2 separate regions of the Homo sapiens genome follow, and region 2 is linked to region 1. Evidence: promoter capture Hi-C in 16 types of primary human blood cells and fetal thymus (Javierre and others, 2016). All regions are on one chromosome and are shown on one strand. The core of a region is centred on a gene start or on the middle of the fragment in contact, and the rest is flanking DNA. Distances in the headings are between cores, read along the strand shown. Region 1 holds the start of RHOV (ras homolog family member V). Region 2 has its middle 5.2 kb from the start of TRS-GCT4-2.

Evidence for each region. Contacts are between HindIII fragments. The CHiCAGO score rates a contact against its expected background, and 5 or more counts as called.
Region 2: a fragment that was not itself captured here is called in contact with the fragment with the promoter of RHOV in region 1 in 1 of 17 cell types (M0 macrophages); the score reaches 5.0 in M0 macrophages.

What each region holds. Positions count from the first base shown.
Region 1 is chr15:40,871,767-40,877,990 of GRCh38, forward strand. RHOV (ras homolog family member V) reads right to left here and starts at 2,468. Exons shown (of 3, transcript NM_133639.4): 1 at 2,166-2,468; 2 at 1,918-1,976; 3 at 448-1,735. The coding sequence starts at 2,373. The coding sequence ends at 1,292. It overlaps LOC124903475 (a long non-coding RNA gene), which reads left to right and starts at 1,976. Exons shown (of 2, transcript XR_007064600.1): 1 at 1,976-2,157; 2 at 2,544-2,822. RefSeq lists an enhancer at 75-364 and a silencer at 2,003-2,522. The HindIII fragment of the contact is 13,617 bases long and covers 1-6,224 here.
Region 2 is chr15:40,585,572-40,591,795 of GRCh38, forward strand. No RefSeq gene overlaps it. Among named protein-coding and RNA genes, the nearest start is that of TRS-GCT4-2, 5.2 kb to the right of the region's middle. RefSeq lists an enhancer at 4,601-4,650. The HindIII fragment of the contact is 2,500 bases long and covers 1,927-4,426 here.

The DNA of each region.
Region 1 (6,224 bases), core at 1,218-3,717:
GGAGGGGGGGATGGTCCCCTAACCTGAGCCCCAGGGCCCTGTGAACTGCCAGAAGGAACAGAGCAGAAAAGTTAGAAGGCTGGGGACTGACCTTGAGCTCCAGTGCTGAGCATGGTGCTCTAGAAAGGAGGGGTGGAGGGGAGGGGCTCCACCCACCAGGTGAGGTCATGGGAAACCAGCTCTGGCGCTGACACCTGGGGAAACCCGTTTCCAGGCCGCTTCCCACGCTAGCTCTCCTGGGAACCAGCTGAGCCCCAAGCGGGGAGCTCCACACCTACCCCCACAGTCCAGTTCCCATTACACTGCCCCCACCCCCAGTCCAGCCCCCACCTTTCAATCTAGCCTCAGTCCTTTGGTCCCCAATCTGTCTCTAGCCAGGCAGTTAGGCCTTGAGGAGGGTTCTGAGGGAGGAGTGGGCTCCAGGAAATGACAGAGACAACGCACGCCTTCACAGACTTAAGGTTTTATTTGCAGACTCTGCACTGCTCTAGCTTCTAGGCTGTGTGACCTTGAGGAAAGGGATGATCCCCAACCCGGTCCTCCTTCAGGTTCTAATTTGCAGCTCCTCCCCCTCCTTTTGCTGGGCCTTGACTCTCACTTCCTGCCCCACTCCTGGCTCAGCCAGTTTGGGCAGTGCCTAGGGAGCCCAGAGACCCAGTTCTTCCCAGGGGCCAGCCCCGCCCTCCCTGGCCTTGGGGATTGAGGGCAGCCCAGGTGTCAGCCTGCTCCTCATCCACCCCACTTCCCTCTCTCCTCCTCCTCGTCATCTTCTTTCCAGGCCTTATCCACCATCAGTCCCAGGCTCCAAGACCTCTTTTCCTGCTCGCTCTCTCAATCTCTCGCCCACTCCATCCCAAACTTCTCTCCAAATCGGGGTTGAGCCCCTTCCAGCCCTCCATAATGCCAAGCGTTCCCCAAGCTCTTTCTCACCCCTGTGCCAAGGAAGGGTCCTAATTCAGCCAGGCTGACCTGAGGGCCCAGGACAAGAAACTGGGTTCCCAAACTGCTCGGAGGTGACTGACCCTGTTAGGACCATCCCATGAAAATCAAAGTGCCAGGTTTTTTTCTGTGAGCTTTGACTGGAGAAATCCAAATCAGAGCCTTCCCTCCTAGGCTCACCCAGGCATATCAGAGTGGGCAGTTAGAGGCCCATGTCCCCCGAGTGTTCAGAAGGGAACTGAGTCCTATGAGGTGGCCAGGCCCTGCCAGTAGCTGCCGCAAAGGCCCGGGTGCCCCAGGTCTCAGAAGTCTTTGGCCTCCTGCCTACTACTTGCTATGCAGCCATAGCTGCTCAAACGAAGCAGAAGAACTTCTTCCAGCGGCAGCGGGAGAGGGTGCGCACACCTTTGGCATTCAGTTTCTTCTCCAGCCGGGCTTTGTGCTCAATGGCACTGAGAATAGCCGAGTCAAATACTTCCTTCAAGTTCTTCTGCGTCAAGGCTGAGCACTCAAGGTAGCAGCAGGCTCGGATCTTCTCGGCCAGACCCTGAGCCTGGGGTTGGGGCACGGGGCCCTCCCGGCCCCCCTGGTCCAGCTGAATTAGTACGTTGACATCGTCCCTCAGGTCGGCCTGGGTGCCCACCAGCAGCACAGGCGCCTGGGGGTTGTGCGTGCGGATCTCGGGCAGCCATTTCTCTGTGATGTTTTGAAAGGAGCTGGGCTGCACCACGCTGAAGCACGCCAGGAAGACATCGGTATCCGGGTAGCAAAGGGAACGAAGTCGGTCAAAATCCTCCTGGGGTGGGAAGGCCAGGTGGTAAGGATTAGCCCCCCGACACATGGAATCCATTTCTCACCCGGGGCTGGAAACCTGAGACTCCAAGAGCCCAAGGCTTTCTCCATTTGCTCCATATGGGGTCCTCCCAGCCTCCAGCCCATCTCCCCGCAGACCAGTAGAGGCCGCGCCCAGCTTCTCACCTGTCCCGCTGTGTCCCAGAGCTCAATGCGCACCGGAGCTCCATCCACCAGGACTTGCACTGCAGGGGCGGGGCGGGGAGAGCCTGAGTTAGGAAGAGCGTCCTGGGCCGCACCAGCGCCACCTCGGGGCCTGCTCCAGTCTCCTCCCCGGGGTCCTCTGCGCCCTCCCGCCGAGACGCCCGCCCCAGCTCCCCGGTGCACAGCCCCGCCGCAGCCACGCGGCCGCACGGGCGATTGAACGTACGTACCAGAGAAGGTGTCCAGCGCAGTGGGCCGGTAGCGCGCGGGGTACCCATTGCAGGTGTAGCTGACGATGAGGCTGCTCTTGCCCACGGCGCCGTCGCCCACCAGCACGCACTTGATGCCCAGCTCTGGGGGCGCGCTACGCCGCCGCGGGGGAGGGGTCGGGGCCCGGAGCGGGGGCGGCTCGGCCTCGCTCAGCTCCCGCGGCGGCATGGCCCGCTCCGGGGGCAGCAGAGGGGCCAGCCCGGGTCTCGGCTTCGCTGCGCTCGGTGAAGCAGGTCCCGCTGGCTGCCTCTGACTGAATGGGTCCAGGCTGGGCGAGTCGGCCCAGCGCTACCAGCGGGTTTGTGTAGGGCCCCGCCCATCTCATCTACATGTTTCAGGCGGCCCCGGACCCCACCCATCGGCGAAGATCTCCCGCGGCCAGGCACCCTGCGAGGCCAGGCGAGGAGGAGGAAAACCCCGGGAGGAGGAAAGGCAGGCAGAAAGCTGGAGCTCCAAGAGTCACGCAGGTACAAGGACAAAGAATCGTCAAATGAGAATACCAAGAAGAGATAGACATCCATGATTTATTGTTAGGAGGAAGAAGCAAGTTGCAGAACATATAATACAGTATGTTCAGGTTAAACAAGTGTGCAAATTAAACCTTGTTCAACTTACAAGAAACAACTCTATGCATATGTTTGCATGAGTATTAAAAAGTTGGGATAATTTTATTAATGAAAGAATTACTTTTTTAAATATTGAGGCTGAGAGCAGTGGCTCATGCCTGTAATTCCAGCGTTCTGGGAGGCTAAGCCAGGAGGATCACTTGACCCCAGGAGTTCAAGGTTACAGTGAGCTATAATAGTGCCATTGCACTTCAGCATGTGTGACAGATCCTAAAAACAAACAAACAAACAAAAAACCTGTTGACCCCTGAACAAAGCGGGAATTATGGGCGAGAAACCCTGTGCAGTCAGCCGAAAATCCCTATATAACTTTTGACTACCCCAAAATTTAACTATTAATAGCCTGCTGTTGCTGGGCTCCGTGGCTCACGCCTGTAATCCCAGCACTTTGGGAGGCCGAGGTGGGTGGATCACCTGAGGTCAGGAGTTCGAGACCAGCCTGGCCAACATGGTGAAACCCCGTCTCTATTAAAAATACAAAAAATTAGCCAGGTGTGGTGGCGGGTGCCAGTAATCCTAGCTACTCAGGAGGCTGAGGCAGGAGAATCACTTGGACCTGGCAGGTGGAGGTTGCAGTGAGCCAAGATTGGGCCACTCCACTCCAGCCTGGGTGACAGAGCAAGACTCTCTCTTAAAAAACAAAAACAAAAAACCCCCCAAAAAAAGTAGCCAAGCATGGTGGTGTGCATCTGTAATCCCAGCTACTCGGAGGCTGAGGTGGGAGGATGGCTTGAACCTGGGAGGTGGAGGTTGCAGTGAGCTGAGATCATGCCATTGCACTCCAGCCTGGGCAACAGAGCCAGACTTTGTCTCAAAAATAAATAAATAAATAAATAAAAAATAGGCTGGGCGCAGTGGCTCACACCTGTAATCCCAGCATTTTGGGAGGCTGAGGCGGGCAGATCACATCACGAGGTCGGGAGATCCAGACCATCCTGGCTAACACGGTGAAACCCCGTCTCTACTAAAAATACAGAAAATTAGCCGGGCATGGTGGTGGGCGCCTGTAGTCCCAGCTACTCGGGAGGCTGAGGCAGGAGAATGGCGTGAACCCAGGAGGCGGAGCTTGAGTGGGCCGAGATTGCGCCACTGTACTCCAATCTGGGAGACGCAGCAAGACGCCATCTCAAAAAAAAAATAAAAATAAAAAAATAAAAAAGGCCGGGCGAGGTGGCTCACACCTGTAATCCCAGCTAATTTTTGTATTTTTAGTGGAGACGAGGTTTCACCATGTTGGCCAGGCTGGTCTTGAACTCTTGACCTCAGGTGATCCATCTGCCTCGGCCTCCCAAAGTGCTAGGATTACAGGTATGAGCCACCACGCCCAGGAGGCTTATCATATTTTCAAACTTTTTTCTTCTGACCTGTATCAGAAAGTTAGAATCATCGTAAAGGTCTGCACCCTTGTGGTCTCCAGTTGGGTAGGCTGAGGAGAAGGAGGAAAAGGAGTTGGTCTTGCTGCGTCAGGGGTGGCAGAGGTGGAGAAGGTGGAAGGGGAGGCAGGAAAGGCAGGCACACTTGGTATAACTTTTATCTATTTTTAGAGATGTGGTCTTGATCTGTTGCACAGTCTGGAGTGCAATGACGCGAGCATAGCTCACTGCAGCGTCCAAACTCCTGGCCTCAAGCAATCCCGCCCCAGCCTTCCAAGTAGCTGGGATTACAGGCATGCACCCCCAGGCCAGGCTACATTTTTTTAATTTTTTTTTTTTGTAGAGACAGTCTTGCTTTTTTGCCCAGGCTGGTCTTCAACTCCTGGCTTCAAGTGATCCTCAGGCCTCAGCCTCCCAAAGTGCTGGGATTAAAGGCATGACCCACCACACACGGCCCTCAGTGTAACTTTTATTGAAAAAATTCTGCCTAAAATGGACCTGTACAGTTCACACCCATGTTGTTCAAGGCTCAGCTGTATACAGATCATGAGAGAGGCAGAGAAACACAAGTGTGAATACAGCAGGCAGGAATGTACTGTACTCCTTTTCAGAGGAGAGCTTTCTCTAGACTCAGCCTGAAGGCAAGCTGTGAACACTTTCACTCCCCTCAGCTAAAGGAACTCAGGGTGCTGAGAAGCTAGCTGGGGAGGATCTTCAAGGACAATTTCCATTTGAATATTTTATAAATCTCCAAATACCTAATATTATCTCATCATCATCAAAAGCACATAATAATTACCTATCTGCAGATGCTGTTCTGGGCCACCCACTGCCCTTGCCCTAGAAGGAGTTTGCAGACTGAGACAATATCTCCCAGGTAGCCCTGGGAAGGTCACCTGGAGAGCAAGTGAAGAGTAGCCTGATGCTAATTTTGTCTCTTTATTGCAACCACACCAAGTGACACCAGGCCCAGAATCCTTTCTCTGATCTCTGACCCTTTCATCTCAGCCTATGCAAAGATCACAGAAAACACCGTCACCTTCAGGGAGTCAGCCATTCACGAGTTTTGGGAAAGGAGAATGTTGGGAGGGGGAGGGGCAGTGAATATTAAAAGAGATAATTCTATTTCTCCAAGAGCTGGTAGTATAAAAGCCATAAATCCGTCCAGGTGCGGTGGCTCACACCTGTAATCCCAGCACTTTGGGAGGCTGAGGTGGGTGGATCACTTGAGGTCAGGAGTTCGAGACCAGCCTGGCCAACATGGTGAAACCCCGTCTCTACTAAAAATACAAAAATTAGCCGGGCGTGGTGGTGGCGCCTGTAATCCCAGCTACTTGGGAGGCTGAGGCACAAGAATTGCTTGAACCTGGGAGGCAGAGGTTGCAAATGAGCCGAGATCGCGCCACTGCACTCCAGCCTGGGTGATAGAGCGAGACTCAGTCTAAAAAAAAAAAGCCATAAATCCAAACCAAATCTTTACATCTCTTAGAAAAAGTGACAGGTTCCCTGATTTTTCTTTTCTTTTTCTTTTTTTTTTTTTTGCCAGGGTCTCGCTCTGTGGCCCAGATCAACAGATTCAACCTCAGCTCACTGCAACCTTCACCTCCCAGGTTCAAGCGATTCTCCTGCCTCAGCCTCCCAAGTAGCTGGGACTACAGGTGCATGACACCATGCCTGGCTAATTTTTATATTTTTGGTAGAGACAGGGTTTCACCATTTTGGCCTGGCTGGTCTTGAACTCCTGAGCTTAAGCAATCCACCTTCCTTGGCCTCCCAAAGTGCTGAGATTTCTTGTTTTCTCTTTTTGAGCCCAAAGGAGAGGACTACAGCTAGAAAGATGACTTAATCATTAAAATCTCGACTATGGGGATGGGGAAATCGTAGGAGCCCCTGTAACCACTTCTACATGCCAATGTCTTCATCCTACATGCCATACCTCTGAATGTCTGGGGATGCTAATAATCCCTAATTGTAGCCCCAAGTCTCAAAAACTTCTCAGACACATCCACATAAGTTTATT
Region 2 (6,224 bases), core at 1,927-4,426, 290 kb before region 1:
AACAAACAAAAAGTAGTTACCTTTTTTTTTTTTGGAAATGGAGTCTCACTCTGTCTCCCTGGCTGGAGTGCAGTGGCGGGATCTTGGCTCACTGCAACCTCCGCCTCCCAGGTTCAAGCGATTCTCCTGCCTCAGCCTCCCGAGTAGCTGGGATTATAGGCGCCCGCCACCACGCCTGGCTAATTTTTTGTATTTTTTTTTTTTTTAGTAGAGACAGGGTTTCACCATATTGGTGAGGCTGGTCTCAAACTCCTGACCTCGTGGTCTGCCTGCCTCATCCTCACAAAGTGCTGAGATTACAGGCGTGAGCCACTGTGCCCGGCCAAAGTAGTTATCTTTTTGGTGGGAGGATGCCTCCAGGAAGGGACACACAGGAAGCATCAAAGGTGCTAGTAATCTGCCACCTGCCAAGAGGGTAGGAAAAAAAAATTAAAATAATTAAAAATCATTTTTTAAAAAAGAAACAAAGGGGCTGGTAATGTTCTATTTCTCAAGCTGGGTGGTGTATATACAGCATTGCTGTTTTTTTCTTTCTTTCTTTCTTTCTTTTTTTTTTCGGAGACAAGGTCCTGCTCTGTTGCCCAGGCTGGATTGCAGTGGCACGATCATGGCTCACTGTACTCTCGACCTCCCAGGTTCAAGTGATCCTCCCACTTCAGCCTCCTGAGTAGCTGGGACCGCAGCACACACCAGCACACCCAGCTAATTTTTGCATTTTTGGTAGAGACAGGGTTTTGCCATGTTTCCCAGGCCTGTCTGGAACTCTTGGGCTCAAGTGATTCACCCATTTGAGCCTCTTGAGTAGCTGAGAATATGGGTGCATACCACCACACCTGGCTAATTTTTAATATTTTGTAGAGACAGAGTCTCACTGTGTTACCTAGGCTGGTCTCGAACTACTGGCCTCAAGCGATCGTCCCCAACCTTGGCCTCCCAAAGTGCTGGGATTACATGTGTGAGCCACTGCACCTGGCCTTATTATTGTTATTTTTAAACTGTACATGCATATTACATTACGTATGTATGTATTGTATAATTGTGTAATACTATCAAGATAAAACTTTTAAACAACAAATATTAAAATATCTCACCTCTTTTTTTTAACATTTGGTTATCTCTGAAATAGTGACTCTCCTCTTTCAGTCCCACTGCACAACTCTTTAAGATCCATTTGACCTTCACACAGCTGGTGGGTGCTACTCCAAAGTGCCTAGACCATGGGTTGTTTTCACCAGTGGTGGAAAGATAACACCATACACCTAGTATTTTGGAGACTATAATGGTAAGCAATAATTAATAATTTGCAAAAATGGGCCAGGCGCTTGGTGGCTCACACCTATAATCCCAGCACTTTGGGAGGCTGAGGTGGGCGGATCATGAGGTCAGGAGATCGAGACCATCCTGGCTAACACGGTAAAAGCCTGTCTCTACTAAAAATACAAAAAAAAAATTAGCCAGGCATGGTGGCGGGCGCCTGTAGTCCACCTACTAGGGAGGCTGAGGCAGGAGAATGGCATGAACCCAGGAGGTGGAGCTTGCAGTGAGCTGAGATAGCGCCAGTGCACTCCAGCCTGGGCGACAGAGCAAGACTCCGTTTCAAAAATAATAATAATAATAATTTGCAAAAATGACTAACTGCTTTAATTTGCCTTAGCAGATTCAAATACAACTTCTCCATCATAAAAGAACTGAGGGATCTAAAAGCAGTTCATGGCTTTGGAATTCTAGACCCCGCATGCTCTCCGACACAAAGAGCCCAAGAACTTGCATCTTCTATCTCTTCATTACCAAGACATCTAGACAAAAGGTTCTTGAAAATGTTTTAGTAATTCAAGTAAATAATAAGTGATGCAATTATTCTGGTTCTTTTTTCTTTCCAACATTCCAAATGTTGAAGTTAAAGTAGGTTAGGAATTTTAAAAGGAAAGCTTTATATCTGATCTAAATGCCAAATCTTCCAGAATCACAACTGAAGCAAAATTGCAAGGATTAGTCATTTTATAAGCCAAGATATGCCAGAAACTGCCAGTAAACTACAGAAGCTAGATGAGAGATATGAAATAGATTCTCCCTCACACCCCTCCTAAGGAACCAACCCTGTTGACACCTTGATCTCAGACTTTAGCCTCCAGAACTGGGAGACAATAAATTTTTGTTGTTTAAGCAAAATTTTTTGGGTTTTTCTGAGACAGCCTGTCACCCAGGCTGGAGTACGGTAGCATGATCAAGGCTCACTGCAACCTGGAACTCCTGGGTTCAAATGATCCTCCTGCCTCAGCCTCCCGAGTAGCTGGGCCCACAAGTGTGCACACCCATGCCTGGCTAATTTTTTTTTTTTTTTTTTTTGAGGTAGAGTCTCACTCTGTTTCCCAGGCTGGAGTACAGTGGCACAATCTCGGCTCACTGCAACCTCCATCTCCTGGGTTTAAGTGATACTCCTGCCTCAGCCTCCTGGGTAGCTGGAGTTACAGGTGCATGCCACCATGCCTGGCTAATTTTTGTATTTTTAGTAGAGATGGGTTTTTTTGCCACATTGGCCAGGCTGGTCTCGAACTCCTGACCTCAGGTGATCTGCCTGCCTTGGCCTCCCAAAGTGCTGGGATTACAGGCGTGAACCACCGTGCCCAGCCGCCTGGCTAATTTTTTTAATTTTAATTTCATTTTTTGTAGAGACAGGGTCTCACTGTATTACCCAGGCTGGTCTCGACCTCTTGGCCTCAAGCAGAACTTCTGCCTTGGCCTGTCAACATGCTGGGATTACAGGCATAAGCCATGGCACCTGGCCTCAAAAAAGAATTTTAAAGCCTTGCATCTTGGGCTGAAATAAAGGCCACCTCTGATACCTCCTAGGTTATATAAAAAATGACTACTGACAGTCATTGAAAGGAGAGTTGATTGGAAGTGATCCTTTCAGTGAGTTCCCAGAAACTGACATTAAGGAACTATTTCAGTTTTTTAAAGCTAAAAAATCAAAACAAAAACAAAACATTTTTTCAGATGTCAAGTTTCTGTGTTATTCAATAATTTAAAAATCAGAATTCTAGACCAGGCACGGTGGCTCACACCTGTAATTCCAGCACTTTGGGAGGCTGAGCGGGGCAGATCACCTGAGGTCAGGAGTTTGAGACTAGCCTAGCCAACATGATGAAACTCCATCTCTACTAAAAATATAAAAATTAGCTGGGTGTGGTGTGGCGCGCACCTGTAATCCCAGCTACTCAGGAAGCTGAGATGAGAGAATCGCTTGAACCTGGGTGGCGGAGGTTGCAGTGAGCCAAGGTCGCGCTACTGCACTCCAGCCTGAGTGACAGAGTGAGACTCTGTCTCACAAAAAAAAAAAAAGGAAAAAAGAAAACGATCAGATAAACAACTGGCTAACTATCCATCACTACCTCAGCTTGGGATATACCATAAAGTGTTATTCCCTATTTCCCTGAGTCTTTGGCATTTACTCATTCATCTTGGCTTTCCTAGACAATGTTACTAAAACTGGATTTCCGTTTTGCTCTACTGATCTTCAATATGAAAATGTTATTTAGTTTTCAGTTCACTAGACATTCCTAGAAGTTGTTGTAGTATTTTCACACGATAGAGTACATCTCAGGGAATGATTTTAGAAAAGAAAAACGTTTTGGGTCGGTGTTGTAGACTCAGAGCAGAATGCATGGATTCACTATGGAACCTCTCCAGACCCTGTCATCACTGTGTTCCCAGAGATGGTTCTCCAGTGGGAGAACCTAATGGTAAGGAACAAATTGACTTCACTTCTGTCATTGCCTGCCTCTCAAAACCAGTCTTTGCAAGTCTTGGAGCCTGAGGTCTGGGTTTTTCTTGCAAGAGTTAAGAAATAAACTTTAGATGTGTCAAAAAAAAAAAAAAAAGCCAAACCGAACAAACAAAAACAAAGCATTGATTTCAATTCTTCCTTCAGAGCTATGTCATATAAGGGCTGCTGCTGACACACACAGCCTGTCTGGGCTGTGGACCAGTTTATTATTTCATAATAAACATTGGCCATTGATTCCCAGAGAACCTCATTTTCAAAAGAGGGAATTGGTCCTCTTAAAGCTGGCCCCAGATAATGAAGACGCATTGCCTAACACTCCAATAGTAAAAGAGCTGGAATATCTTGGTAAGATATTTATGCAACAGTCCTTTGCTGTGGTCTTCCAGAGGTTGAGGTGTCCTGCAATAGTTGAGGATAGTACTTGCAAGGAAGAACGTTGGTGTTGGTAGAGAACGGTTTCTTTGAGCTGTGGTTTGTTGAAGAATTTGGGGAGTTAATGGAGATCTCTGTAGACGAGAGCATCCATCTCGGTAGACGAGAGCATCCATCCCTGTAGATAAGAGCATCTTGTCCGAGTCTTGCAGTTGCAGCTGCTCCAGTAGATGGCGCCTCTAACTCTTTTCCTGTCAGCTTCTTACAAGCTTCTCTTTCCGTTTCTAATTGAAGTATTTCTTTTTCTTTCCCTTGACTTTTTTTTTTTTTTTTTTTTTTTTGAGACGGAGTCTCGCTGTGTCGCCCAGGCTGGAGTGCAGTGGACCGATCACGCCTCACCGCAGCCTCAACCTCCGGGGCTCAAGCGATCCTCCCACCTCAGCCTCGCAGGACTACGGGCGCTAGCGACCACACCAGCCTCTTTCTTTCTTTCTTTCTTTTTTCTTTCTTGTCTTTCTTTCTTTCTTATTTTCTTTTTCTTTCTCTTTCTTTCTGTCTTTCTTTTTCTCTCTCTTTCCTTCTTTCTTGAGACAGATTCTCCCTATGTTGCTTGGGCTGGTCTCGAACTCCGGGACTCAAGCAATCCTCCCACCTCAGCCTTCCAGAGTGCTGGAATTACAGGTGTGAGCCACTGTACTCAGCCTAAAAAAGTGAGTTTTCAACTCACAATTTTTTTCTTTTTTTTCCTCTATATTCTGCCAGTACATTTCATTTTCATAACTTATACAGCTGAAGATTTTCCTTTGAAAAAATAATCTTCCCAGCCCATGCAGCACGCCGTCCCATCCAGCATGGCCAACATGGTGATGTTGCGGGACAATCAAAAGATGGGAGAGACCGAACAGAGTGAGTTCAGGAAAGGTCTTTATTAAAAGGTGGTCACTTGGCCCAGTAGGACTAGCCTCCAGGAAAGTCTGAGCCCCAGACAAAGAAAGTAGCCACGTTTTACGCAGTCAGTGGCCGGGAGCAACGTGATGCAGGAAGGGTACTTACAGAAGCGAGAACAAAGACAGTTGATCAGTCTTTTACATTTATCTATACTACACGTTCCACATCCCTGGGAAACCATGTTTCTGTACCAACCTTATAACTTTGCAGCTGCCCTAGGGAGGGGAAGCAGGAACTCGCTGAGCCTCAAGGAATGTGAAACTAGCAAGTACAGATAAGGCTCGCCGAGCACAGAAGGAAAAGCAGGCAGTTAGTATTCTTCTCTAACTTGGCCGGGGGTCTTCTCTAACTTGGCTGGGGGCGGGGCGGGGGGGAGGTGGCTACACTACACTTAGCTTTTGAAGGAAAAAGTAAAAATTTTCGGTTGTCTTTGATTATACTTGTAAAATTCATGAATTCCTTCTTCAGTGAAACCCAGTCTCTCTTAAAAATACAAAAATTAACAGGGCGTGGTGGCACACACCTGTAATCCCAGCTACTTGGAAGGCTGAGGCAGGAGAACTGCTTGAACCTGGGAGGTGAAGGTTGCGGTGAGCGGAGATAGTGCCACTGCACTCCAGCCTGGGCGACAGAGCGAGACCCTGTCTCAAAAAAAAAAAAAAAAAAGTCTACCCATGCTCTGCACAGACGTTGATAGACCTATAGTTATCACTGCAAGAAGCTGGCAAACCTCAGGAAAATGATGCAGCCCTGGCGTCTCTAGAGAAGTTGCAGCACTAATGGGCAATGTAAATAAAAATGTATTTACAAATGCATTCCCAGCACTTCCCTGGCAAGTGCTGGGAAAAGCCTAGCAGGCCACAGAAGCGTCTAGGAGGGTTACAAAGGTCCAGAAGCAAGAGAGAGCGCACGGGCTAGTTGAAATGGAAGAGGGAGCTGCAGGTTGCAGGGCTTGTTGATGGGGGTGACCTCTAAGCTCAGATCCGAAGGAGAAGCAGGAGCCGCCCAGGCAGTGACATGATGGGAAAGAAGAGGGTGGGGTCAGGGGTATGTTGCAGGGAGAGGAGCAGGGACGGTATCTACAAACGTGTTGTGGAAAGAGAAAAAATCCTAGTTC